Regions from separate parts of the Homo sapiens genome. Here region 2 is linked to region 1. Evidence: promoter capture Hi-C in human tissues and cell types (Jung and others, 2019). All regions are on one chromosome and are shown on one strand. The core of a region is centred on a gene start or on the middle of the fragment in contact, and the rest is flanking DNA. Distances in the headings are between cores, read along the strand shown.

The links. Contacts are between HindIII fragments. The study calls those that stand out against the background at their distance.
Region 2: a fragment that was not itself captured here is called in contact with the fragment with the promoter of CCDC140 in region 1 in 1 of the 25 tissues and cell types used here (pancreas).

Annotation. Positions count from the first base shown.
Region 1 is chr2:222,296,897-222,299,596 of GRCh38, reverse strand. CCDC140 (CCDC140 long non-coding RNA) reads right to left here and starts at 1,450. Exons shown (of 2, transcript NR_161172.1): 1 at 1,224-1,450. It overlaps PAX3 (paired box 3), which reads left to right and starts at 599. Exons shown (of 9, transcript NM_181458.4): 1 at 599-1,066; 2 at 2,384-2,619. The coding sequence starts at 982. RefSeq lists a cis regulatory region at 544-581 and a promoter at 1-999. The HindIII fragment of the contact is 9,119 bases long and covers 1-2,700 here.
Region 2 is chr2:222,244,824-222,247,523 of GRCh38, reverse strand. The region is part of intron 4 of PAX3 (paired box 3); the gene reads left to right. Among named protein-coding and RNA genes, the nearest start is that of CCDC140, 52 kb to the left of the region's middle. The HindIII fragment of the contact is 4,267 bases long and covers 1-2,700 here.

The DNA.
Region 1 (2,700 bases), core at 201-2,700:
AGCTAAATATGTCTGGGGCCCCAGATGCCTTCTTATTGGAATTGTGCCCCCTCCAGTGGCAGTAAGCCAAGAGAAATGAGAGCGAGACCTACAGGTAGAAAAAATGAGACATAGAGAGAGACACAGGAAATCACAAGAGGAATAGAGGCTGAGCGAGACACACACACAGAGGCACAGAAAGAGACAGAGAGGGAAATAGAAAGTCAAGGAAAGAGTGATCAGAGAAAGACACACACACACACACACACACACACACACACACACACACACACACACACAGAGTGACACAGACAGAGAGACAGAGACAGAGAGACAGGAACTTCTCCGCCCTCAGCAACTGCCATCTCCCTGGGGCTGTCTCTCTCAGTTTCCACCGGGCCAACCTTCTCTCCTGGGCAAGGGGCGCAGCGCGGGTCCCCCTCGGGGCCAGCAGAGGCCTCGGCACCACCAGAGATGGGAAGAGAAAGTGGTCGCTGTTGCCCAATCAGCGCGTGTCTCCGCCACCCGGGACGGTCTACCCGTCGGCCAATCGCAGCTCAGGGCTCCTGACCAAGCTTTGGGTAAAAGAACTAATAAATGCTCCCGAGCCCGGATCCCCGCACTCGGTGTCACCACAGGAGGAGACTCAGGCAGGCCGCGCTCCAGCCTCACCAGGCTCCCCGGCTCGCCGTGGCTCTCTGAGCCCCCTTTTCAGGGACCCCAGTCGCTGGAACATTTGCCCAGACTCGTACCAAACTTTTCCGCCCTGGGCTCGGGATCCTGGACTCCGGGGCCTCCCCGTCCTCCCCTTTCCCGGGTTCCAGCTCCGGCCTCTGGACTAGGAACCGACAGCCCCCCTCCCCGCGTCCCTCCCTCTCTCTCCAGCCGTTTTGGGGAGGGGCTCTCCACGCTCCGGATAGTTCCCGAGGGTCATCCGCGCCGCACTCGCCTTTCCGTTTCGCCTTCACCTGGATATAATTTCCGAGCGAAGCTGCCCCCAGGATGACCACGCTGGCCGGCGCTGTGCCCAGGATGATGCGGCCGGGCCCGGGGCAGAACTACCCGCGTAGCGGGTTCCCGCTGGAAGGTAAGGGAGGGCCTCAGCGCGCCGCCTGGATCCCAGGGCCTGGGACCGGCTGCCTCACCCCATCCCCAGGCTCCGCAGGCTCCTTTGGTGCTTCCAGGAAGCCCATTCCCTGGGCACCCCACACCCCAAGAAGCACCAGTCGGGGGCGAGGACCTACTCGATTTCCTTTCTGCAAATGGAGCGCGCTGCTCTCTGCAAATCCTGGCGGAGCTGGGCGGTCAGGCCTGCGGCGAGCCGGGGAGACTTGTCCCTGTTGTTTTGGAAATGCCGCGGTGGAGAAGGAGGTGAACCGGCTTCTGAGCGGCAGAAGCAACTTCTCCGCAATTTGTCCATTCGAAATTGTCTCGAAGTTGTCTCGAAATTGTCCCGGCTGCGCCCACACTTGTGAAACATATGTTAGTTCAGGAAGTATTTTTTTTTTTTTGCCCTGCAAAGTTGTGGTGGCTAACGCCGCGCCATTGTGATTGGAATTTTTAGAATAATTAAATAAATTAGAATTCTATGTATCTCAAATAGCATCTAGAAGTTTCTATAACTTGTTTAGGAATCGCCTTTCCGTCCACTTGAAGATTCTGGGAATCCCGGGGAGGCAGGAAGTCTTGCAAGCCTGAGCCGTTTTCAATGGTTTTCCAGGTTAGGGCGCCCCAGCAGAGATGCTCATCGCCCCCGCCACCCACTCCCTTCACACCCAGCCTAGAGTAGAATGTAACACCCAGAGCAAGAATGGGGGCTGGGGGCCCAGGAACAGCCCTGCCGCTGCTGTGGTCTCTGTCCCAAGATGTAACAGGTGACACAGGCACTGCTGCTTGGGCCTCCTTTCTGGACCCTCTTTGACCCTTGGCTGCTGCACTTTTGGCTAGAAACCCCAAGGGCTATCAGCTGGCCCAAGTCCCTTAGAAAGGGAGAGATCCCAATTGGACAGGGATCGGTGGGAGCAGAGTTCATCAAGGCCAGCTCCTGGGTGAACTTCTCTTCGCCAGGAGGCTGTTTCTAGAGCAAGCTAGACTCTCTACCAGCTGCAGGGTCTCCTAAGTTGCCACTCCCCGGGCCCGAAGGGGAAGACGCTTTCTCTGGGGAGAATTATTTTGCCCCATTTGCTGTCTTTACACAAGATTACATGCGCTATATTGCTGAATAATTTGAACAAATGTGATTGAAAGGAGGTCTGGGTCTGGGAGTCCGATGTCGAGCAGTTTCAGCGTCGGTGCTGTAACATGAGGATAGGACAGAAGACTGCGAAATTACGTGCTGCTGTTCTTTGCTTTTTATTTTCCTCCAGTGACTTTTCCCTTGCTTCTCTTTTTCACCTTCCCACAGTGTCCACTCCCCTCGGCCAGGGCCGCGTCAACCAGCTCGGCGGTGTTTTTATCAACGGCAGGCCGCTGCCCAACCACATCCGCCACAAGATCGTGGAGATGGCCCACCACGGCATCCGGCCCTGCGTCATCTCGCGCCAGCTGCGCGTGTCCCACGGCTGCGTCTCCAAGATCCTGTGCAGGTACCAGGAGACTGGCTCCATACGTCCTGGTGCCATCGGCGGCAGCAAGCCCAAGGTGAGCGGGCGGGCCTTGCCCTCCTGGCTCCCAGACTGTGGTCCCCTGTGTTGGGGAAGACCGGGCGGGGGGTAACGGCTG
Region 2 (2,700 bases), core at 74-2,573, 52 kb after region 1:
TTGTTTCTTGAGTTTTTCAAATCTAGAGTAAAGAGTTTTCTGCTGATATTTAAAGTGATTTCTAGGTTTTAAAATTCTATGCTAAGCAGCACATTTAGCACAAAACATGAACGTCTCTGACTAATAGTGGGAAAAAATTTTAAAAAACTATTTCTAATTTTCTCCCTGCAATTTAGTTACATTGTTAGTTACCTGGGATTTGTCTTCCTGTGCTTCCACTGGTTTTCTTCTCTTGTCACTCTCTCTGTGCAGAGGCTTAAACTCAGCCATTCACACTCTCATCCTGCTCTAGCTTCTTCTATCAGAAAGAAGAAAATATTTGAAGAGCCCCCTCCTACTTCATTGAGGCCTGAATAGGAATAAAGACATGGACTTGGGAGGGATGCTGTAAGGACAACAATCTCTGATGACCCAGCCCTGGACAAGCTTTCTTAAACTTGTGGCTAACTTATTGTGAGAATAGAAGGAGAGATGTATAAGTGGGTTCAATGTTTGTTTGGATGAATTAGACACCTGAGTTATACAAAGACAATGAGAATATATGTGCATTTGTCTCAGCCCTCATATAGAGAAATTGGCAAATTTTCATATCTGGCCATCCAAATGCATTCACAGGTAAATATGAACAAATCAAAAGGAGTAGTGCTTTATAATCTCAGAAAACAACTTTAAGAAAGTTAAATTTTCAAATATAAACAATACTATTAACCAAGCAACTTGTGCTATTGCTAAAATAACAAGGATAAATTCACTTGAAAACTTGCTGGAGGAAAGAGTTTTATTTACCTTTTTAATGTGTAATTAAGAAAGTTTTTAAAAACTTATATTTTGTTAATAATTACACAGAAAAAAAGAATGCGAAGAAACACAGCAAAGGAGTTGGATCTGTCTATATCTATCTATTGATCTATTGATCCATCCATCCATCCATCCATCCACCCATCCATCTGTATAATATAATTCTCTAATTTAAAATCAATAGCAATTCTTTTTGGTTCTGGGACTATCATTATTTTTTATTTTTAGACATTGCTCAAATTTTATTTTATAATGTAATGTACTTTTGTAGTATGAAAACAAAAACGCACAATGAAATAAGAAACATATTTTGCTCAAAAAGCTTTTCTTAGGAACGAACATGTAAATTGGGTGGTGAAGAATGAGCTTGAGTTTGAACTGAATTGGCAGTAGTTTCTTTAAATGTTGGCATCTGTCTTGACATAGTGATGGGATGATTTCCAGTTAAAACCATGGGCTGGTGTGGGTGGGAAGAACGAGTGGGGCTACTTTTGGTTTTTACCCAGGAAAAGCTTTAATTTATTTAAAGTTGCCAGGGATTAGGACACATTGTCAGATCCTCAGCCTCAACTTCAGTCCCTCAGAGCAGGCTTTCCTAACTCAGAAAGCCTTGTCAGAGGAGAATTTTGGGGAAAAAGTGGTCATGGTGAACCCATTGACTCTGAAACCACCTATTGCTTTATTTTCTATCCTTCTTTGCTAGAAAGGAAAGTTGATCCTTCTCTCTCTCTCTCTGTCTCTTTTTGAGACAGAGTCTCGCTCTGTCACCCAGGCTGGAATGCAGTGGCATGATTTCAACTCACTGCAACCTCTGCCTCCAGAGTGCAAATGATTCTCCTGCTTTAGCCTCCGGAGTAAGTGGGATTACAGGTGTGCCCCACTACACCCGGCTAATTTTTTTTTTTTTTTTGTATTTTTAGTAGAGATGGGGTTTCACCATGTTGGCCAGGCTGTTCTCAAACTCCTGACCTCAGGTGATCCACTTGCCTTGGCCTCCCAAAGTGCTGGGTTTACAGGTGTGAGCCACAGTGCCTGGCCTCTCTTCTCTTCTTTCTCCCCTCTTTTATTCTCTTCAGTTATTTTCTCTTCTCTCCTCCCCTCCTTTACTCTCTCCCACATATCACTTCCTTATTCATTTCCCTCCAGTTCTGCAAGATTGTCCCTGAAAAGGCAATGTGGAAAAGAAAGGCAGTTGTCCAATAATTCATGCAGAAACCTGCTACTGAAGAAATTCTTGTGTTTTTCTGGTGTTGGGTACCTGACCTATTCACATTGGTTGTGGACACTAATAAAAATGATCAGAAGGTGAATTGCTCACAATTATACTTTGTTTTGCCTGTGCAGATCCATATCAGTAGACATAGAGAAGACAAGAATTTGCCTCCAAGCAAATATATTCAGGTTTTCCCCATGAAAATCAAACTAAATGTTGGCATGTGCTTAATTTCTTTTAGGCTGGTTGCCTGACTTTTGTTAAGCTTGGCCTTCCTGTTTAGGCCCTGAGGTATTTGGGAGCACTGAATTTATTTACTTTCATAGCTACCTTAATTTTATTCTATTTCTTTTCTTTTTCTTTTTTTGAGACAGTCTCGTTCTGTTGTCCAGGTTGGAGTGCAGTGGCATGATCTCAGCTCACTGCAAACTCTGCCTCCCAGTTTCAAGTGATTCTCGTGCCTCAGCCTCCTGAATAGCTGGGATTACAGGTGTGCACCATCATATCCAGCTAATTTTTGTATCTTCATTAGAGACGGGATTTTGCCTCATTGGCCAGGCTGGTTTCATACCTCTGGCCTCAAGTTACCTGCCCACCTCAACCTCTCAAAGTGCTGGGATTACAGGCATGCACCACCACACTCGGCCTAATTTTTGATCTCACAGTACAGATACAGGTCCTGGGTTAGG